Regions from separate parts of the Homo sapiens genome. Here region 2 is linked to region 1. The links are contacts of gene promoters, found by promoter capture Hi-C in blood cells and fetal thymus (Javierre and others, 2016). All regions are on one chromosome and are shown on one strand. The core of a region is centred on a gene start or on the middle of the fragment in contact, and the rest is flanking DNA. Distances in the headings are between cores, read along the strand shown. Region 1 holds the start of SLU7 (spliceosome associated SLU7). Region 2 holds the start of MED7 (mediator complex subunit 7).

The links. Contacts are between HindIII fragments. The CHiCAGO score rates a contact against its expected background, and 5 or more counts as called.
Region 2: the fragment with the promoter of MED7 here is called in contact with the fragment with the promoter of SLU7 in region 1 in 6 of 17 cell types (naive B cells, total B cells, neutrophils and 3 more); the score reaches 14.4 in naive B cells.

The regions. Positions count from the first base shown.
Region 1 is chr5:160,416,575-160,422,099 of GRCh38, reverse strand. It overlaps SLU7 (spliceosome associated SLU7), which reads left to right and starts at 3,019. Exons shown (of 16, transcript NM_006425.5): 1 at 3,019-3,077. It overlaps PTTG1 (PTTG1 regulator of sister chromatid separation, securin), which reads right to left and starts at 245. Exons shown (of 6, transcript NM_004219.4): 1 at 209-245. RefSeq lists silencers at 91-250, 351-410 and enhancers at 2,608-2,677, 2,688-2,807, 3,258-3,307. The HindIII fragment of the contact is 5,685 bases long and covers 1-4,909 here.
Region 2 is chr5:157,139,948-157,145,472 of GRCh38, reverse strand. It overlaps MED7 (mediator complex subunit 7), which reads left to right and starts at 2,608. Exons shown (of 2, transcript NM_004270.5): 1 at 2,608-2,653. RefSeq lists enhancers at 1,981-2,080, 2,891-2,940. The HindIII fragment of the contact is 9,177 bases long and covers 1-5,525 here.

The sequences.
Region 1 (5,525 bases), core at 1,770-4,269:
CGCGCGGTTTGGGGCTGGCACTCATCAGACAGTTGCCGTTGGTCCAGTTAGCAGTCCGAGACCACGCTCAAACGGGCTCGGAGCCATCTAAGCCCCGGGCAGTCCCCCAACCCCAGCCCCAGCTTCAGCCCCAGCCGCAGCCGCAGCCCGCCTCCTTCCCCGCCGGAGCCGGCTCAACTAACCACCCGCGACCCTCCCATTCACTCACGCAGGTCTTAACAGCCGCATTCATCTGAGGCCGCGGTGAACGGACGCGGCGCACTCCTGGTTTAAACCACAACTCGCGGCCCAATTGGCTCTTCCGCCCAGGAGGCGGGGCCGTGGGCGTGGTCACCAAGTAGAACCAATGGAAAGGACCTAAGCAGCCAGGGCTCCGCCCCAAAAGCTCTTTCTTGCAAACTTTGTGGCACGTTTTCTGGGAAGAAAAAACTAGGATCGTGTAATATTAAAAAATAAATCGAGAGGCTTTTTTTTTTTGCTCTCCATATTATTAAGCTGCATGGACTGAGGTACTGACTCAATAACAATGGTTTATTGCTTTAAGATATTTTTATTTAGATGACCCTGTAAAAAGGATGGAAAATAAATAGAAATATTGAAGAAATAGGGGAAACAACCAATGTTGGGTCTAAAGAATACTAGCAGAGAAGAATTTAAAATTAAGAAGAAATGTAAGTACAGGTAGATCAAACAGCAGCGTTTGAGTCATTCTCTTATGCTTATGATTAAGAACGAACTGATCGTTCCCTAATCTTAGGACTATCCTCAATACTTCAGGCTAAGACACTGTTTCTATTATACCATCACGAATCTGTCTTAGGAACAAAATTATGATTCTAATGAATACATAATTTAGTCTTCCCTTAAAATTCTATCCTTTGATAGTGATTTATTTTAAACCTCTAACATCTCAATAATATATTAACCAAAGTTGCCTGGAAGGGCTTGGCCAGGGAGCAAGAGAATATCAGAGAGATAATAAAGATATAAAAAAGGAATTCCAATTTCCCAGATATGAAAAGAAATTTTGCTTGAAAAAGTTGACGACCTTTTCCTGTTTCTATAGTAAAATGGAATACATTGAACAACTACAAGATGAAGATATAAATTAAAACATAAGGCTGACCTGTGTCATTCAAACTCCGCTTCCCACAGTTCACCATATATGCATTTTAAGCTGCAGATCAGCTGAGAGAGAGGAGTTGATTCCATATTACTCTTTCACGAAAGGCTTGACACTATACCTGACATAGACATGGTTCTCAATATATGCCAGTTCATCATCTCTTTTTCCCTGGCATTTCAGGACCAATATTGATTGAATGATTCATTCATTCACAAATATTTATTGAATACCTATTAAATGCTGGACATTATACTAGGTTATAAGAAAAGAGCCTAACTTAAGGTGAAGAAAAGAGGAAAGACAGAAAAATATGCATACCTTTATTGTCCCTTCACTGTTCTTTTTCCTTTATCCCCATCCTTTATTTCCTCCTGTATCTCCTAAATTTTACATCATCATATTATATTATCAGCACTCAAAGTGTTAATTTTTAAGACTAAATCTGCACAACACCTATAGCTTCCAAGTGGGGATTCTCTATCTACAGAGGTTTTGAGGTGCAAGGTTTGTCTTAGGATGTCTTCTTTTTTTCACCAACAGAAAGCATTGTTTCTCCTAAGGTCATGCAGCAGCTGTAAACCATAACCACCCTCTCTGAATAACCACTGTTTTCTTACTAATGATGCCCTCAGACCAGCTTTGCTATTCCTATTACTGGAAATACTCAATTGCTAAACCACCCTCACTCATAACAGCACTTAGTCCCTAATCAGTTTCTCCCAATCCTTCTTTACAAACAGCAACCCATCCAGAACCAATCCCGGCTTTCCTAGACCTTCCTCAGAACCCTCCAGAGGGACCTCAAGTCTTAGAAAAGATTCAACTGTCTTGTCCTGCGCTTTCTGATTCCTCTTCGAGATGCGCTCTCCTGGTGGTTTTGGCTAATTAGGCCTTAACACTCCTAAGCAAATTTCAGGAATATTTTTAAGTGGAAAAAAACAAAGCCTGAGTGATTCATAGACTCTATTCACTTTCACGCTAGTCTCTGACACTGTTTCTTCATCTACTGCCCTGTAAAAGCAAAATTAATATTTATGTTCCTAAACTCCAGGTATTGCAAATTCTTAATACGAAAAAAATAGATTCTATTATGTTGGGCTATTTTATTGAGGCAGGAATGGTAGCTACTTTTACTTTTACATTCAAAAAGGATACACGTTATGGGGGGGAGGGGGAGAACAACCAGAATAGAAAGCACAAAGAAAAAAAAAAATCACAAGAAATTCTACCACGAAAATTAGTTTATTTTCCAGTGTTTTATTTCACATGTATACTTTTAAAGAAGGGATGGGATAGCATAGATACTGTTTCTCCAAAATGGAAATTGTCGTATTTTTTTCTAATGATAACATGCCTTATGTTCTCACAGCACCTGGTATTCTTTTCATAGCAACTTTTCACAGCTGCTAAATCTGAATAGTTGTTTCGGTGTCTTTCGCACTCTGATGTAAATCTGAGGGAAGACACTGTTCACCAAATCCCCAGCATGTTACACAGCCTGGCTACTAATTAGTGCCAAGTTTAACTGCTTTTTTTTTTTTTTTAAGCTGATACGTCACCAACTTCCCCATTCATTTCATAGTCCCCTGGTGAGGCTTAAGCTCTTGTCTGTTCTGGTCTTTTTTTTTTTTTTTTAACTTCCTAAAATTCTCCGATTCTAAAAGAAAGCTCCTAAATAGAAGCCAAAAAGTAGCCGCCCAACTTGAAACTCCCCACAAGCCGGGTAAATAGCGCGATACGCAGCAGCTAGAGTTCTCGCGTTTCCCACGGCGCAGGAGCACTGGAGGGCCCCCCTCCGCCCCCGGCCCCGCCAGGAAATTAGTGCGCATGTGCCGGTCATCCGGAAGTTACCGCAGTGGCCGCCGGAATTAGGCGAAAAGCCGGAAGTAAACATTACGAGATTGGCTTGGATTCTGTCGGATGGACTTGGGGCTAGCTGCGGCGGGGCTGGGTAAGAAAATATTGTTAGAACTTGCGGGCGACGGGGAGTTGGGGAACCTGAGAAAATGAGTCGAAGGCTCCTAATTATTGGATATATCTTCACGGGGGTGATGAGCCCTCAGGTGTTGAGGGAGCGAGGACGGGGGACCGAAAAGCCACTGTCCTGAGACCCATTCATGGCACTCGTGCCCTGCCAGGCCAGGCCTGCGTCTTCAGGGAAACAGTCGGGATAACTATGAGAGTGTCGCCTTTGTGGCGGTGCCTCGAAGACCTTGAGCAATCCCCGGACTGCGAGCAGGGAAAGCTGCTTCCAGTACCCAAATTGACAGACTGTATTTCCTCGCCAGAAAAATTTACTTGAGCTTCAGTTTTTCCTGTTAAGTCGAGATGATCCGACTTCAGTGGGGTATCATGCGGGTATAAATGAAAACATCTATGTAAGTAAAGCGCTAAACAGTGTCTTACGTAAGCCCTCAGTAAGTGGGAGCTATTACTGTTTTTAGTTGGAGAAAATAGGTCCCTCCACAGCGACGGAAACTAGTGCGTACAACTTGGTGACTATAATACTTTATTCAGTTTTAGTTTTTAATATTTTAGGCCCAGAAGCCAATGTTCTGTGGACAAGTATAACATACTGGTTTAGAGAACTGACTTTGGAGTCAGAGTTGTGTTTGAAGTCCTTATTTCTTACTACAATGTGTTCTTGGCTGAGGATCTTACCTCTCAGAACCTGTTTCTTCACTGTAAAATGGTGTTCATCAGACCTATCTACTGGGCTTATTGTGAAGATTAGATGAGGTGATACACGGTAGGCTCGAGAAATGGTAGCTGTTTTAATAAAGATTAAATTTACCGTTGTTGTGCTTCTCTTCGCAGTATATTTAGGCCATCAGTTTATATGTTACACAAATATATGTGGAGGTTTTCTATAGGTCAGACATAGAAGAGAACACCTTTGAGAAGCATCGTAGACCCCCAGGCATTGAGCACTTTCCACTGGGAAAGAGCTTGTGTAAAGGCCCAGTGTCTACAGGGAGCACGGTTTGTTAGAGGAACTAGAGGAACTACAAGAAGGTCTATGTAGTTAGTAGAGAAGGAAGCGGGGATAGTTGTAATGGTGAGGCTGGAAGGTAGGCAGGTGCCAGACCATGGTGGACCGTGTAGGTGTGTTAAAAAGATGTCAGTTTTTAGAGTACGAATGATAAAATCCTTTGGAGCGTCATTTTTTTTTTTTTTTTTTTGAGACGTAGTCTAGCTCTGTCGCCCAGGCTGGAGTGCAGTGACGCAATATCAGCTCACTGCAATATCGGCCTCCTGGGTTCAGGTGATTCTCCTGTCTCAGCCTCCCGAGTAGCTAGGATTACAGGTGCACGCCACCACGCCTGGCTGATTTTTTTGTATATGCTTAGTAGCGACGGGGTTTCGCCAGGTTGGCCAGGCTGGTCTCAAACTCCTTACCTCAGGTGATCCGCCCGCCTCGGCCTCCCAAAGTGCTGGGATTACAGGTGTGAACCATCGCACCCAGGTGTCACTATTCGTTATGATAGTTATTAGCCACTTGTGGTTATTGAGACTGGAAATGTGATTAGTTTAAATAAGTGTAAAACCCATATCAACTTTTAAAGACAGAGTTGTTTTTTTTCTAATTCAAATTTGCAATTATAATATGTTGGATATATTACATTAAATAAAATCTTGTAAAAGTAATTTTACCTGTTTATTTTTACTTTTTTAATGTGACTACTGGAAAACATAAAATTACATGTGGGACTAGCATTGTATTTCTCTTAGATGGTGCTGTATTGAATTTTTGGACGGTACTGCATTGGAGGATTTTAAGCTTGGGCAGTAGGACATTGTATTAATCTGTTTTCACATTGCCAATGAAGACATAGCCCAGACCTGCCAATTTACTAAAGAAGTAAGTTTGTTGGACTTAACAGTTCCACGTGGCTGGGGAGGCCTCACAAACATGGTGAAAGGTACCTCTCACATGGCGGCAACAATAGAGAATGAGAGCCAAGCAAAACGGGTTTCCCTTTATCAAACCATGAGATCTCGTGAAACTTATTCATTACCAGGAGAACAGTATGGGAGAAACTGCCGCCATGATTCAGTGATCTCTCACCCGGTCTCTCCCACAACACTTGGGAATTACAGGAGTACAATTCAAGATGAGATTTGGCTGGGGACACAGAGCCAAACCATGTCAGACATGATATGATCAGATTTGTGTTTTGAAAAATTAACACTGCAATGTGGAGAATTGATTGGAGGGAATCAGAAGAGTCCAGTAAGTAGGAAAAAGTAATAACTTACACTAGGGTGGTAGCAGTAAGAATGGAAAGAAGTAGATGCATTTGAATGATACTCAAAAGGTGAAAATAACTGTTCTTAGTGATGAGATAGATGTAGGGATAAGCTGAAGCACTTAATGTAAAGGGACGGATGGTGTTGT
Region 2 (5,525 bases), core at 1,359-3,858, 3.3 Mb after region 1:
TTAACACACATCATATTGTCACTAGCCCTTCTCATGATATGGACTTCATATCCATTATTCATTTGAAGTTTATTGGAAAGAACACTAGATTGATAGTCAAGAGTCCAAGATTCTAGCCTTGATTCTGCTACTAACTGTTAAGACACTGCCCCTTTGGGCCCAGTAATTCTATTTCTAGAAATTTATTTCAAAGAACAAAATTGGACACATGCACAAACATATATGTACTGGGATCTCATCATCCTGTGTAGTTACACTGGATCAAATTTGGAGAAAAATAATTTAACACAATGAGGATCTGGCTAAAGAGACTGTGGTATAACCACCAAAGCCACGCTATGAATTTATTTGAAAGTGATGATTGTATTCATTTTGTTTCTTATTCAATAAACACTTATTGAGTATTTGCCAATTTCAGGCACCGTTGTATGTAGGTTCAAACACAACAGCAGTAAATGAAACAAAGGTCCCATGCTCATAAACCTGATATTTTTGATGGATAAGAAAGGCAATAAAATACATAAATATACTATGTAAGATGATTTCAGATGATGAGAGGTTCTATGAAAAAAAGATAATACATAGTAAGGGTTTCAGGGGCATCTCCCAAGAGAAAGATTAGGGATGCGCTATTTTGCATAGAGTAGTGTAACCCCAGAAGAACTCTTTGAAGTCACATTTGACCAGAAACCTGAATGAATTGAGGAAATGAAGCCGGGCGCGGTGGCTCACGCCTATAATCCCAGCACTTTGGGAGGCCGAGGCGGGCGGATCACGAGGTCAGGAGATTCAGACCATCCTGGCTAACACGGTGAAACCCCGTCTCTACTAAAAATACAAAAAAATTAGCTGGGCGTGATGGCGTGTGCCTCTAGTCCCAGCTGCTGGGGAGGCTGAGGCAGGAGAATGGCGTGAACCTGGGAGGTGGAGCTTGCAGTGAGCCGAGATTGGGCCACTGCACTCCAGCCTGGGTGACAGAGCAAGACTTCGTCTCAAAAAAAAAAAAAAAAAAAAAAAAAAAAAAAAGGAAAGAAGGAAATGAGACGTGTCAATATCTGTGCAAAGAGTTCCAGGCAAATGCATTGGCCCCAAGGCCGGGATGTACTTGGCAATTTTGTAGGGCCTGTGATATAGGCCAGGGGAAGGATGTCAGATTTTATTCTAAAAGTCATAGAAAGCCTTGGAGGATTTTGAATAGAGGAGTGATAAGACCGGTCTTATATTTTAAGAAGGTGTGGTAAATAGACTAAGGGAGGACAAAAAATCAAAGAAGTCCAGGTGAGAGATAATGGTGGCATGGCATAGGACCATAGCAGTGGGAACGGTGGTCAGTCATATTTGGAACTTTATTTACTTATTTTTAAATAGATCTAATGCAAAAGGCTGGTATGGTAGTTTCGGTGGGGTATGTGAGAAAGGAGAAAAAGGTGATTCCTTCGATTGAACATTTGCAATTGAGTAAAGTGCAACTGGGGAAAGATGTCTGTCACCACTGGATATGAGGGTCTGAAGTGCAGAGGAAACGGTGTTCCAGGGCCTGCATGTAATCATCCAGCTGATATCTGACTGAGAAGTGGTTGGAGAACTGAGTCCTGGGGCAATCCATTAATCAAATGTGCCAAATGCTGCTGACAGATGGAGTAAAATGAGGACTGGGAACGACCATTGGAAGTCACTGGTGCAGGATACATTGGGGTCAGCGGTGAGGAGAAAAGCTGGATTGGGTTATGCTCAACGTAGATGGATTTCTTCAGGAAATAAATTGATACGTGCGAGGGATTTAAAATGGGGGAGTCCGGAAGTGGTGGTTCACGCCTACAATCCCAGCACTTTGGGTGGCCGAGGCGGGCGGATCACTTCATATCAAGAGCTCGAGATGAGCCTCGCCAACACGGTGAAACCCTGTCTCTACCAAAAATACAAAAAAAAGAAAAAAAAATAGGTGAAACCCCAACTATTCGGGAGGCTGAGGCACGAGAATCGCTTGAATCCCGGAGACTGAAGTTGCAGCGAGCCGAAATCGCGCCACTGCAGTCCAGCCTGGGCGAAAGAGAAAGACTCCGTCTCAAAGAAAAAAACAACAAAAAAACCCTGCATGTCTATATTTTCGAATTTGTATGTAAGACGTCTTAATTGTATGCGTTAAATTAAAAAAGGACAAAAGGAATGGAACTACCAGCAGCGACTAAGTCAGTAAAAGAGTGGTAATGGGGAAGGGGGTGGAATATACGCAGGCGCAATAGCAAGCGTTTCTTTTGGAGGTTATTTTCGTGTCATAAATTTCTAAATTCACGTTAAGTCTTACAAGAGCATGTTAAACATTAAAACATAAGATTGTTTCTGGTCAATAAGGGGTCTATAAAAAATAAAGCAATAAGGTGTCTTGTTCAATTTTATGCCTTAATTCAAAAAGAAACGAAGAAACGGAACCCTCAGCTACGACTTTTAAAAGTCAGTAACGGGTGGATGGGAGGAGTCAAACATACGTAGGCGCAACAGCGAGGGATCGGTCTGAGGCGGAGCTAGAATTTCGTTAAAGGACAGCTCTTACAGCCAATCAAGGACAGAGTCGGTGGCTTCTTCCCGGAGGAGACCGGAAGTTGGTTTCGGCTGCAGAGGGGAAGGCGGCTACCAGTGTAAAGCCAGAGCTGAGGTAAGTGGGCGGCAACGGTTTGGGGCCGCCGCCTGTGTGCGTTTTTTTCTTCCGGACCCCGCAGCTTCCTCTGTGCTGGGCTGGGAACTGGGGAGGCATGGCTGAGTTCGGCCTCCAAAGGCGGTCTTTCGTCTTTCTCTCCCGAGTCTCTCCGAGAGTGCGGTCTCTCCGAGAGCGCGGAGGCCTCGGGGTGGACAGCCTGGAGGAGGGGGCTCTAAGCGTGGCAGTCTCGGGGCTTCCTCCGTGTTGGGACGCCGAGCCGGAGTGGAGGTTGGGAGACCTGGCGTCTAGTCCCCGCGCCGCTGTTTTTCTAAGCTGTGTGGCCTTGGGCGAGTCATTTGCCCTCTCCGGCTCTTTGTAACATGAGAGTAGCCCTCCCTGCCCTTCCTTCTTCTGGGAGCAGTTATGAAACAGCTGAGGTATGGGGGCAGGCGAGGGCGGTAGATCCCAAGCCTAATCGTCAGGTCCATCTGGAGAGGTTTTAAAAGCGACATTCTAGGGCCCATTCACAGTAGACAGAATGAATCAAATCTCTGGGGCTGGGACCCTGGAATGTCTGTCGTCTTCTGGTGAAGCTCCTTCTCCCCCAGTAGAACAAACACTAGATGTTGGATCTTGAGTTAAGAACCAGCTCTGATGCTTGGCTCTGCTTTTATTAAAAATAAGACCTCCATCACCTTTGAAAAGTTCCATCTAGAGAGACAGTAGAGAAAGAAATATAATTTTTGTGATATGCCAGTCCTTATTGTACAGTTAGATGCTTCTCGGCTTAGGGATATAAGAGAGCTTGCCCTTTGGAGCTAAAGGGACCTGGGATAAGAATTCCTGTTGTGCCATTTATTAACCTTTTGATCTGGGGCAACACTTCCCCTCATTGAGACTTCGGATCCTCACTTCTAAAATGAAATTGATAATAGAACTTAATTCGTGGGACCGTGTGGTGGCTCACGCCTGTAATCCCAGCACTTTGGGAGGCCGAGGTGGGCGGATCACTTGAGGTCAGGAGTTCCAGACCAGCCTGGCCAACATGGTGAAAACCTGTCTTTACCGAGAAATACAAAAATTAGCTGGGCGTGGTGGTGCGCACCTGTAGTCCCCAGCTACTCAGGAGGCTCAGGCAGGAGAATCCCTTGAACCCGGGAGGCAGAGGTTGCAGTGAGCCCTGATGGTACCACTGCACTCCAGCCTGGGAGACAGATTGAGCCCTTGTCTCAAAAAACAAAACTAACAACAAAAACCCCAAAAACCTTAATTCATAGAATTGTTAATGAAGATTATGTTACAGAGGCCATAAAAAATGGTACCTGTCATGTAGTTGGCCTTAGGAAAATGGCAGCCGCAATACAGGAATGCACATCGTGTAGGAAAGTACAGAGCAGCACTCCTCACCTAAAAAGGTTTGAGTGGGATGAAACGTGAGCTGTCAAAAATTGTATTTTCTGCCGGGCACGGTGGCTCACGCCTGTAATCCCAGAACTTTGGGAGGTCGAGGCAGGTGGAACACGAGGTCAGGAGATCGAGACCATCCTGGCTAACACGATGAAATCTCGTCTCTACTGAAAATAGAAAACATTAGCCGGGCGTCGTGGCGGGCGCCTGTAGTCCTAGCTACTCAGGCGGCTGAGGCAGGAGAATGGCGTGAACCCGGGAGTCCGAGCTTGCAGTGAGCCGAGATCGTGCCACTGCACTCCAACCTGGGTGACAGAGCGAGACACTGTCTCAGGGAAAAAAAAAATGTATTTTGAAGTACCAGATCACTGTTAATTCTTTGATTTTGGTAATTGTGCTTTGGGTAGAAGAAAACATTCTTGTCACGAGAAAACACACTGAAGTATTCAGGGGTAAAGGAATGAAAAACCAATAAAGCAAATGAAGGAAAATGTTAACATTTGGAGAATCTGAGTGAAGAATATGAAGTGTTTTTTGTGTATTCATGCACTTTTTCTGTAATCTGAATTTATGTTAAAAGTTTTAAAATGTCTGGGTGTGGTGGCTCACGCCTGTAATCCCAGCACTTTGGGAGGCCAAGGCAGGAGGATTGCTTGAGCTCAGGAGTTTGAAACAAGCCTGAGTAACATGGCAAAACTCTGTCTCTACAAAATATACAAAAATTAGCCGGGCTTGGTGACATGCCTGTAGTCCCAGCTGCTTGGGAGGTTGAGGTGGGAGGATCGCTTGAGCCTAGGAGGGCGAGGCTGCATCATCCTATGCACCACTGTGGCATAGTGGAAACTCAGGGCTGCGCCACAGCTGCCCTCAGTACCTCACGAATTCTAAGTATAATATTGCTTCTAGTAGGATACTTGCCCCACCCGATGTTAGAGTGTGTTATATCTTGAAACTCTGATAACACCAATCTAAAGGAGCACTTAAGGATCTTCTCATTGGATGGTATACCTAGGCTTAAGGTAGAATAAGTAGAGGTTATTATGGCCATAGATACTGGGTTTGAACCTGGGGTTTGACATTTCTGTGATAGTTGTAGAGAAGTTAATGTGTCCATACAGGCCAGGCGTGGTGGCTCACGCCTGTAATCCCAGCACTTTGGGAGGCCAAGGTGGGCGGATCACCTGAGATGGGGAGTAAAGAGACCAACCTGGCCAACATGGCAAAATCCCGTCTCTACTAAAAATACAAAAATTAGCCAGACATGGTGCACGCCTGTAATCCCATCTACTTAGGAGGCTGAGGCAGGAGAATTGCTTGAGCCCAGGAGGCGGAGGTTGCAGTGAGCTGAGATCTGAGATTGCACCACTGCACTCTAGCCTGGACATCAGAGCAAGACTCCATCTCAAAAAACAAACAAAAGTTAATGTGTCCATATAAAATTGCATAGTATACTGTGACAAAAAGGGTATGGAACTGAATCATC